Linked DNA regions of Homo sapiens: all the other regions are linked to region 2. The links are contacts of gene promoters, found by promoter capture Hi-C in blood cells and fetal thymus (Javierre and others, 2016). All regions are on one chromosome and are shown on one strand. The core of a region is centred on a gene start or on the middle of the fragment in contact, and the rest is flanking DNA. Distances in the headings are between cores, read along the strand shown.

Evidence for each region. The method cuts DNA at HindIII sites, captures the fragments that hold promoters and counts their contacts. A CHiCAGO score of 5 or more calls a contact.
Region 1: the fragment with the promoter of MTOR here is called in contact with the fragment with the promoter of CAMTA1-DT in region 2 in 3 of 17 cell types (monocytes, total B cells and total CD8 T cells); the score reaches 11.1 in monocytes.
Region 3: a fragment that was not itself captured here is called in contact with the fragment with the promoter of CAMTA1-DT in region 2 in 1 of 17 cell types (neutrophils); the score reaches 6.1 in neutrophils.

The regions. Positions count from the first base shown.
Region 1 is chr1:11,260,708-11,264,414 of GRCh38, forward strand. It overlaps MTOR (mechanistic target of rapamycin kinase), which reads right to left and starts at 1,844. Exons shown (of 58, transcript NM_004958.4): 1 at 1,738-1,844. RefSeq lists a silencer at 1,562-1,611 and an enhancer at 2,032-2,191. The HindIII fragment of the contact is 974 bases long and covers 962-1,935 here.
Region 2 is chr1:6,783,170-6,787,037 of GRCh38, forward strand. It overlaps CAMTA1-DT (CAMTA1 divergent transcript), which reads right to left and starts at 1,811. Exons shown (of 3, transcript NR_149049.1): 1 at 1,489-1,811; 2 at 980-1,054; 3 at 723-876. It overlaps CAMTA1 (calmodulin binding transcription activator 1), which reads left to right and starts at 2,285. Exons shown (of 23, transcript NM_015215.4): 1 at 2,285-2,406. The coding sequence starts at 2,362. RefSeq lists enhancers at 651-1,327, 1,328-2,002 and silencers at 1,128-1,187, 1,268-1,327, 1,458-1,867, 2,208-2,367, 2,578-2,847 and 1 more. The HindIII fragment of the contact is 4,377 bases long and covers 1-2,036 here.
Region 3 is chr1:3,645,852-3,649,413 of GRCh38, forward strand. It overlaps WRAP73 (WD repeat containing, antisense to TP73), which reads right to left. Exons shown (of 12, transcript NM_017818.4): 2 at 1,557-1,709; 3 at 815-931. Among named protein-coding and RNA genes, the nearest start is that of WRAP73, 2.5 kb to the right of the region's middle. The HindIII fragment of the contact is 710 bases long and covers 1,258-1,967 here.

The DNA.
Region 1 (3,707 bases), core at 594-3,093, 4.5 Mb after region 2:
TAGTGTCCATTCTTTTTTTTTAGCGAGTCTTCAAAATCTAATGTGCATTTTACACTTACAACAATGTCAATTTGGACTAGTCATTTTTTTTTTTTTTTTTGAGACAGAGTCTCGCTCTGTCACCCAGGCTGGAGTGCAGTGGCATGATCTCGGCTCACTGCAACATCCACCTCCCGGGTTCAAATGATTCTCCTGCCTCAGCTTCCCGAGTAGCTGGGACTACAGATGTGCAGCACCACGCCTGGCTAATTTTTGTGTGTTTTTAGTAGAGATGGGGTTTTATTATGTTGGCCAGGCTGGTCTCAAATTCCTGACCTCAGGTGATCTGCCCGCCTTGGCCTCCCAAAGTGCTGGGATTACAGGTGTGAGCCACCATGCCCGGCCTGGACTAGTCACATTTCAAGTGCTCCACAGCCACATGTGGCTGGTGGTTCTTGTACTGAACAACGCAGTTCTACAGGGGACTAGCTCTTCAAATGTAAGCTAAAAGAAAGTAATTAGTTCCTGGCCGGGTTTGGGAGGCCGAGGCGGGCGGATCACGAGGTCAGGAAATCGAGACCATCCTGGCCAACACGGTGAAATCCCGCCTCTACTAAAAATACAAAAAAAAAAAAAAATTAGCCGTATGGTGGCGGGCGCCTGTAGTCCCAGCTACTCGGGAGGCTGAGGCAGGAGAATGGCGGGAACCCGGGAGGCGGAGCTTGCAGTGAGCAGAGATCGAGCCACTGCACTCCAGCCTGGGCGACAGAGCGAAACTCCGTCTCAAAACAAAACAAAAAACACCAATTAGTTCCTGAGCTCATTCCCTCATTCCTCAATTATGCCCACACTGCCATGGGTGTAACATACACCTATCCCAAGTATGTTCAGCTTATGCTACAAAACCAATTTCTCAAAATTCTTATTTTTGAAAGAATTTGTAAGGCACAGAGGAAAAACCTGGGAATAATTGGTTTTGTAAAGCTTTCAAATACTCCACTGCCAAGAAGAAGACTGCAGAAAGAAATGTCATCCTTTAGGGGAGAAGAAACTTAAGAATCCCTGCTAAGAAAACTACTCCAGTTTGTGTGTATGTGTGTGCGTCCGAAAGGGGGGAAGGTGGCTGGCAAGGGATTTCTATTCTCAGGAAAGAACCAGTGTATCTTTATATGATCTGAGGCCCACAGGCCATCTGCTCCAGACTGAATTCAATTAAACTTAGGATATCTGAAGTCAAATATCCTAATGGTGTTGATAGGGCTTAAGGAAGTTAAGATTGGATGGGGGAAACAGGGATGGGGCTGGGGGAGAGGGAGAGAAGATGTACCCCAACGATGTAACCAAGCTCAGTTTCGGGGACTGGATCTCTGAGAGGTGTCCACAGTGGAGGACAAGGGGCTGACACGGACGCTAGTGTTCCCTGGGGCAGAGATACACAATTTTTATACGTGGCTCAAAAGAAAGGGTGGCTGTGACAGGCAAAAGACCCAAAGGGCAATACCAGAGCTGATGGGCCGGCCTTCGGGCGGACGTACCGCGGGCCGAAGGGTCCAGGGGTCTCTTGGGGGTCCCGGGGAGGTGGGCGTTGCCTCGAGGGGTGGGAGTCAAGGCCTCAGACGGTGCCCAGGTCGTGGGGCCGGCAATGTGGGGACCCCACGTCCCAGACGGGCGGCTTCCCCTGGCCCCCCCACGGGCAGGCTGGCCGTGGGTCTGGACATTACGCCGCCCTAGAGGGGTCGTGCCAGGCCCTAGACTCACCGCGCGGCTTCGGCCAAGGCCTCAGCTGCCGCCGCCAGCACCGGTACCGCCGCTTCAGGCCCCCTGCCCCACCGCCCGCCTTCCCCGCTGTCCTCTAAGCCGGGAGCGAGGGAAGGAGGGTTCCCAGCCCTGAGGACCAATCGACAGGTATAGGGAGAAGATGGACTGAAAAACAGGCCAATAGTAATGAAGAAGAGAAGCTTCAGGACCCGGCTTCTCCAGGGGGCGGGGACTGTTCAAATAGACAAACCACGCGGCCAGTGGCAGGTGAAAACAGGCTTGGGTCCACTCGGGAGAACCAATCGGTCGTGAGTTCACCTCAGTCACTTCCACTCACACATCCGGTACGGCGCTGCTAGGATTCCCTTCTGCATCCGGGCTGTGAACTCAAGGAGTCCGGTGTCTGGGTATCTCCGGATCGCAGCGAGAGCGGCTAGCAGAGGTTCGCGACCCCTCCCGGTGTAATTCTGAGAGGAGAATGTGAGCGATGCCGGTGCCCAGGAATTACTGCATCAAAAGACGTTTCGGGCTAGCGCTCTTTATGGATCCTGTGATATCTCTTTTGTTACAATTAATAAGCATTTGAAAATGTTTTTAATTAGATTCTCTAACTTTCCCAAAATTATCCAACTCAGGATCACTCCAGAGAAACCATAGCCAAGTTTTAACCAAAAGAGCTAGTCATAAATAAAAATTTTCAAAGCAACATTATTTTTTAAAAATCCTTTCAAAAAATCAATAGCTGGCCCGGCGCGGTGGCTCACGCCCATAATTCCAGCACTTTGGGAGACCGAGGCAGGCGGATCACCGTAGGTCAGGAGTCGAGACCAGCCTGGTCAACATGGTGAAATTCCCCCACCCGCACCCCCCGTCTCTACTGAAAATACAAAAATTAGCTGGGCATGGTGGCTCACGCCTGTAATCCCAGATACTCGGGAGGCTGAGGCACGAGTATCGCCTGAACCCGGGAGGTGAAGGTTGCATGCACCGAGATCGTGCCACTGCACTCTAGCCTGGGCAACAGAGCAAGCTCCGTCTCAATACATACATACACACACACACACACACACACACACACACACACACACACAACCAAAGAAAATAAATAACTGCTGGTCACGGTGGCCCACGCACTTTGGGAGGCCAAAGCAGGAGGATCGCTTGAGGCCAGGAGTTCCAGACCAGCCTGGGCAACATAGCGAGACGATGTCTCTACAGATTAAAAAAAAAAAAATCAACAGCAAAAGTGGATTTGACTACATTTTTTTTTAATCACAGTGCTATTTGTCATAGTAAACACTGAAAATTCCTAAATATTTCAAAGTAGGAGTCCAATAAAATATGATGCATTCGTTTGGGCGCGGTGGCTCACACCTGTAATCCCAGCACTTTGGGAGGCCGAGGCGGGCGGATCATGAGGTCAGGAGTTTGAGACCAGCTTGACCAACATAGTGAAACCCCGTCTTTACTAAAAATACAAAAAAAAAAAAAAAAAGGTAGGCGTGGTGGCAGGTGCCTGTAATGCCAGCTACTCAGGAGGCTGAGATAGGAAAATCCCTTGAAGCCAGCAGGCGGAGGTTGCAGTGAGCCGAGATCGCGCCACTGCGCTCCAGCTGGGGTGACAGTGCGAGACTCCATCTCAAAAAAAAAAAAAAAAAAAAAAAAAGATGCATTCATAATAAGAAAAATACATAGCCATTAATAATTATAATTTAGAGCCTAGCATGGTGGCTCATCCCTGGAATCCCAGCACTTTGGGAGGCCGAGGCAGGATTGCTTGAGGCCAGGAGTTCCAGACCAGCCTGAGCAACATAGTGAGACCCTTGTCTCTACAAAAGAAATTTAAAAATTAGCTGTGTGTGGTAGCACATGCCTGTAGTCCCAGCTACTTGGAAGGCTGAGGCACGAGAATCACTTGAGTCTATGACTTCAAGGTTGCAGTCATCTGTGATCTCCACTGCACTGCAGCC
Region 2 (3,868 bases), core at 561-3,060:
GGCGCCTGCCACCTTGCCCACCTAATTTTTATATTTTTAGTGGAGACGGGGTTTTGTCATGCTGGCCAGGCTGGTCTCGAACTCCTGGCTTCAAGTGATCTGCCCACCTTGGCCTCCCAAAGTGCTAGGATTGACAGGCGTGAACCACTGCACCCGGCCTGTATCGGTCTTTTTTAAAATGCAGTTTTTTTAGCCTATCATCTCACCTCATAAATGAACACCATAATTTTGGGTATTGCCCCCTCTATCTAGCAATGGGTGATTTTCTGTTTCTGATGTCTACAACTACCATAATGTTCCACTGTGTAGATGTAACACAATTTACTAAATACCCAATATTAGCACATGTAGGATGCTCCCAATTTTTTGTTGTAGTTAAGTACAGTGATCCTGTGAAGAATACCTTCACACATACAGCTTTTCTGGCATTTAGTGTTATTTCCTTAGAACAGATTCCCAGAAGTAAGATCACTGGGTCAAAAGATGCAGACATTTTTATGGCTTTTAATACATACTGTAAAATTGCTTTTCGAAAGGAATATACTAATTTACAATGCCACCAGCACTTCTTTTAAGAATCCGTTTCTCCACACAAATCGTCAACATAGGTGCTATTAAGAATGCTAATCGATAAAATATTGTCCCGCCGTTGTTAAAATTTTGCAATTTTTGAGGCTCATAAAATTAAAGTTTCTTGAAGAATGAGTGTGTAACACAAAACATTCTTTTGGGACATCTTTATTTCTGGAAAACCTAAGACATTCTTACTTGTGAAGACCAGAAAAAGAACACATGTTGTTAGGATTGGCACAGAATTCAGTGTGACAGTCAATCTTAATGCCAGAACACTTGAACGAGGATTTTTCACTTATTTTGCTAGTTGTCACCAACAGTAGCAAAAGGAAAAATAAAATGCGGAAGAATGAAATGTTCTTACTGCAAACCGTACAAGATCACATTGAGGGGCTGGAGCTCTTACATTCAACTTTTCTTTCCTTTTTCTTCTTTTTAAACAATTTGCGATTGCAGCCTCTCCTTTTGTTTCCGGTATTACCTGCCCAGGAGCAGAATTCCTTACTTTCTCCGGAGAGAGGCCGGTCCCTGGGAGCGCTGCCCAGCCACCCGCACGCCTAGCCGCCCCGAGAGCCGCACTCGGCGGACCCGGTTCCTAGGCTCGTTCCCGGGGCACCTGGCGGGCGCCCACCTCCCGGGGGGCACGTGCTCCCGTACGCAGCGCGAGGGCAGCGGGTGCCTGGCTATTTATTAGGAAAAGCCCCGCGCGGACTCTCCGGATTGAGGAGGGTGGGAAACTCGGCTGCCCAGCGCTCCACCCGGGCGGCCGGGGCTGGCGCTTCTCTGCTTTCGGCCGGCGGCCTCATCCTGGGACAGGCAACCATGAGTCATCCGCTCCGCGGGTCACATGGGCAACGTGACCAAAATAAAGTTTCGGTATTTTAAGCCGCCAGAAAAGGGGACAACGGAGCTCACCGGGGGCGGGCACAGGAGGCGGGCGCAGGCGGGCGGCGCCGGGGCCGTGGGGACGCGGCGCCGAGGGGGCGGGGCCTGGCGGGAGGCTCGCCCCTCCCCCACGGCCGGCAGCGACGCCCGGACTCCTAGGCAGTCGGACTCCAGGGCGCGGCACCCCTGCGGACCTCAGCCCCGAGGCCCCCCGCGTCCGGCTCCCCACCGGCAGCGGCGGCGGGCTGCGGGATCCCGGAGATCCCGGCGCGTCCCCCACAGCCACCGGGACCCCACGCGCCAGCAGCGGCTTCCCCGGGAACGTCCTTCAGCCCCGGGAGCACGCGGGAAAAGCCCCAGCGTGCCAATGAGGGAGCGCCTTCCTCATGACGGTCACGCTCGGGGGCGGGGCTTCCCTTCGCCGCTCCCGAGTTCCGGGAACCCCCTTTGATTGGTCTGGACGGCCTGGGAAACACTGTAGTGACGCCCAATCAAAACGCCACGTCTCGGCCTCGAGGAAATATTCCGTGTCGGGCCCGTCCTGATTGGACAGTTCTTTCGGGTTCTGGCCACTAGGAAGCTTTGTTTAGGTCCGGAAGGCGGGCTTTCCTGGGAGTGGGTGGGGAGGGGGCGTTGATTCTTGACCAATCCTTTCAGTCCGTTGGGTGGTGACCAGCCAATGGGCCGGATGGATAGGACGCTCCTCCCGGAGAGTAGTGAGACCCCTGGTGCGGGGCGATTGGCGGCGGGAGCGATGAGTGGCAGCCGCACGGCCCAACGGGAGCTGTGCGTGGGCCGCGGGGCGGGGCCAGGGCGGGTGCGCGGCGGCGGCGGGGTGGCTGGGCCGGCGGCGGCGGCGGTACGAGGCGCGCGCTCGGGGTCCCGGTCGCGAGGAGGAGGAGGATGTGGCGCGCGGAGGGGAAATGGCTGCCGAAAACAAGCCGGAAGGTAAGAGCCGGAGCGCGAGGGGCTGGGGGGCGGCGCGGCGGGCGGCGGGACCCGGCCCCGCCGGACATCCCGGGCATCGGCGGCGCCGGGCGGGAGCGCGGGGGCGCGGCGGGCGGGCGGGCGGGCGACCCGGCCGGGGAGGGGGCCGGCGGGGTGGGGGGGCGGAGCGCGGCCGAGTCCTGAGGTGACTCGCGGGGCCGGCGGAGCGCGGCGCCCCACACCCCACCCCCGGGGGCGGGCTGGGGCCGGAGGGGGCGGGGGGCTCGCGGGGCGGGGACCGGGCCCAGCGAGGAGGAGGAGCCGGCGGAGGGCCGGCGCCTCCCCCACCCGGACCGGGCATCCCCGCCGCTCCCGAGCCCGCTGCGCGGCCCCCGCACCCCCGGCGCTGGGTCCACGGTGGGGGCCGCGGGGCGGAAAGTTTATCCGCCTCGGGTCCTCCTGGCCCCGCGCCCCACTGCTCCGGGCCGGTCCCCGTCGGGCGGCAGCGGCCGGCGCTCAGCCCTCGCCGGCCCCCTGCTCTCCGGCGGGCAGGGCCAGATGTACTCTCTCCGGCACCCTCTTCAGCCCCGTGGACACCTCCCTGAGCGGGCGGGGGGTCCCCGAGCTTCTCCCCGCCAGGGGGACCCCGTCCTGCCGAGCGTCCCTCGGCCGAAGGGCCTCGTGTGACCCCTCCCCCTTCGCTTCCCGGGAAGGGAAGGGGGCCTGCGCAGCATCCCCGCCCCTCGCAGTCGTTCACATCCTACTCTTGCCCTTGCACCCTCACAGCCAGGAGGGTGGGGTCTCCGTTTCTATGGCAAGTGAGGATCTCCACACTCCCTTGCCCTTTACCTTCCGTGACCCCGATCCTTCCTTGGCACAGGGGTCCGTCTGATCTGCTCATCTTCTTTGGATTCTTTTGGGGCCTCTGCACACTCTCCGTTGACCCTTTTTGCCAGGACAAGGGGACTCAGGCTGCCCATGTTCTTCTTTCCTCACCCAGTGGATAGTGGGGGCTTGTGCAGCTCTGAAGTCATTTCTAAATAGGAAAGCAGACACTTCTTCCAGATCATGCATACTCTTACACTTTGCTGGGTTAGGGCGAGCTCATTTCCTAAATACCCTTTGAGTTGCCCTCCTTTTCTTATGGAGACAACTGGACGTTCACCGTGCTCCTTTCGCCATTTGTGTGTCTACACTGACTTGTTCTCTCTTCTCGGAGTTCCTTGTCTGGGTGAGAGTGGGCGCCCCAATAAGATGTAGGGCAGGGCTTCCATTGTGCCTAGTGCTTGAGTGAAAAGGGGCCACACTAGTTGCTCCTGTGTCTGAGGAAGACCGGGGTATATTTTTGCCTCCACTTGACTCTTGTGTCTCAGGAGGGGGCAACCTTCATCAGTTGACACTACCTCACTGGGAAAAGGGTCATGTGGCCTTGTTTTTTGATGTTTTGATTACTGTCTTCTGTGCAGTGAGAACCAGACTTTGT
Region 3 (3,562 bases), core at 363-2,862, 3.1 Mb before region 2:
AATGGGCGGCTGCCGACCGCCCCGAGCCACGCCCCCAGGCCAGGCTCCTGAAGGAAAGGTGCGAGCCGGCTCATATCACAGCGCATTTTCTATCGTTGAATTAAAGGGAGTGCCGAAATCCTAAAAAATCTAAATTAAGATTTTTAAAATGTTTTTTCTTCAAAACTGGACAAAAGATCAGACAATAATACTTAGTGGCTTATAATGCTCTGACCTAAAATATACACACCACTATATACGCTCCCCGGCTCCCTCCAACCCCGCCAATCTACCAGCCACTCGGGAGCCACCTCAGTCATCAGACCCAGGGCAGCAGACAGTGCCTGTGTTCACGACACCCTTATCTGACTCAGTAGCAGCCCAAAGCACGGGCGGTGGGGCTCGCAATCTGGATACGCCAAAGAGAAGCCACAAAGTGCTTCCTTTAAATGACGAGCTGAAAGTTCTTGACGCAACAAGGAAAGAAAAAATCCTATGCTGAGGTTGTTGCTCAGATCTTCAGTAAGACCAAATCTTCTATCCATGCAATTATAAACAGTATATTGTTATCCTTGTTCTATACTATGATTGTTGCTAATCTCTTACTGTATCTAATTTATAAATTAAATGTATCACAGGTATGCTGTATAGGAAAAAACACAGGAAATACAGGGTTTGGTACAATCTGAATCCCCTGGTGGTCTTAGAATGCATCCCCTGAGGATAAGGGGAGACTAGCATACTCCAAACACACCCCCTCTCGCACTCCCCAGCTGTTTCGAGAGCAGAGGACAGGATCACATGGCCAGTAAGGTGTCTTGGGGCTGACACTTACATGGAATTCCGTGGTGTTGAGAATGTGGCGCCCGTCCGGGCTCCAGCACGAGGCCACCAGCCCGGCTGAGCCCTCGTCTATTTTGCAGTGCCATTCGGGCTGCTCTAAAGACCAGACCTGGATTGAGAGAAGAAAGAAACACACAAGTGCAAACTCATCAGCACCGAGAGACAGCGAGGACAGCTCGCTTAAACGCAGCGGAGACCCGACCGCACAGGGTGTCTTCAAACTCATCAGCAGTCTATAGCGAGGCCTCGCCGAGAGACAACTCCCTTAAAACCAGCAGAGACCCGATCACACAGGGTGTCTTTTAGAACCTTTCATGATGAAGGGCTGGTGCTGGATTCCAGTGTAAAAGTAAGCCACGCTTCTTGGTGATTTCATTTCGTTGTTGTTTTAAAACTGTTTATTCACATTGTCATTCCTAAGACCTCATTTAGTTAAGCTTTGGACACAGAAGAAAACACGACTTCTTAGGACTTCCTGAAACACACCACATCCGCGTGGCTAGATTGCTGTCAACACCTCCGTTTCTCAACTATATTGCTTAGAAATTAAGACTACGTTGGAGTTTCCTTAGTTTAAATGTTCTTAAACTTTAGAGAACGTTATAATTTCAAAAGAAAACTGGCTTTGAGCTGCACGGACTTTTTTTTCAAACTAGAAAGGCACAGAACAAAACCCCTCCTTCCCAGGGGCCCTCAGAAGGTGTCCAGATTCTAAGCGACACGGCAGCACACACCTGCACCAGCCCTCGCTTGTACATGGCGCACAGGATGAAGAGCGAGTCTGCCGACCACTCGATGTGCTGGATCTGGTCTAGGCACGTGTACAGCTGAAGGATCTGAAGGGTGTTCACATCCCGGACCACTAACCGGTACTGGACACAGGAAGCCTAAAAAATATGAGAAAGCAAGCACCTGACATTCTCCACTCCAAAAGAGGGGGGCCTTCGGAATGCTACTGCCCTGGCCTTCAGTGACTGTGGCCTTCTCTCCTGCCAGAGGTTTCATGTCTAGATCACCAGTGACATCCCCAGCCCCTAAAGATCAGTTCAGTTCATACAAGGGTAATGTTGAAATATACAAGCCAGGTTTTAATATTGCTATACTCTATTGTAAAGTATAAAAGTATGTTTTAACTCGCTACTTAAAGCTTTAAGACATTTTTAAGTCCCTTCTTATCTGTATGTTAAAAACTAAACTTAAATGGGAAGTAGCATTGGGAGAAAGCTCTTCTGTGAACTAATAACCAAAATCCTCTGCTAGTTTTATAAACACTTTTGGACAATTTCCTCAAATTTATAAAGGGTAAGAATTGAGGCTTCACAGATGACAACGAAAATGGCAAGGAATGCATCAATCTTCTTATGCAGTGCCGAACTCAGAGCCAAAACAACAGAAGATCAAAAGACAGGCTTTCACTTCTGCACACATAAAGATGCTTCGCAAATGCTCATTTATCTCCATTAACCTATTCCTAACACGAAACGGGAAATGTTTAAGTGTTAGTACTATTTTCTTAAAGATAGTTTCTTCTTGTCCATATTTGTTCATTATGTCCCTATCCAAGCAAACAATTTCAAGTAAAAATAACGCCTGAGTACTCACCTGCTGAATGTATATTTTACTACAGTTTCAAGATCAAGAACTGATGTTTAAATATTAACTGCTTCGTTAGTTTTACTTATCAAGGTCAAAGTAGTTTGTGTTTTATGAACCGATATCAAAAAAGAAAGCCACGTTAGTTTTCCGTGGGAGAAAAGAGAGACAGGCGGGTGACGGCAGATTGGAACAAGGAGCTACCACAGCACTTACTTTCTCACACTGTAGCTTTGAAAACTGTGATCAGTTACAGTGAATTCCTTATGAAATGGAATATTTTTACCAACACCTTGAGGAACCACATAAACTCTACTGCAAGATATGAAAACTAGAAACATGGACCTGCTCTCCCCAGTCCTCAGGGCTTTCAAGAAGATGATTCCAGTAACAGATCATTACCAAGTGTTTCAGGGTATTTTGACCAGAGTGTACAAGCTGGAAAAAAACACCCAAGTTAAGCAAGCAGATGTAATCTTTCTCCTTATAATTCACTGAAATTTTCATAAATGGTAAAAACAAAAAACAAACCTCTCATTTAATTGAGGAGGGGGGCACATTGAAAATATACCAAGGCTGAGATGCCATTTAAACTAATGAGGTTTTCTGTTTTGTAGCTGATGCTATTTTATGTGATTTGGAATAAAACCTCCCTGAAGAGGTAAAAAACGTAATTTGAGAGTTAAACTCTCAAAAGCTAGACAGAGCACAGGAATGTCAGGAGTGGCAAAACCTGAAAAAGCATCATGATACATCAGTCAGTTAGTACAGGTGGTGGATAAGGAAAACGAAGCCCACTTTTTACGAGGCATGTTTCTTCTTAGTGGCTTTCCAATGCCAATTGTCCCCCTCTTCTGAGGACATACATACTAGGCATCCGGGTTATCCCTCTCTTCTGAGGATATACACTACTAGGCATCCAGGTACATACACTATATGTTTTGAAGCTTAAAGTTATAGCTCTGTGATTTAAGCACCCTTCTGCCACCCATGGAACGAAGACCTCAAATCCCAGCCATGAGGACAACTACTTCCTTACCTGGGGATAGAATACTAGTATTTAAATCATTTATTCGGCATGTGGTAGAGGAGAAGAGAATTAGAGGAGAAGTAGAGATGACAAAGTAGCCACACCACTTACCAGTTT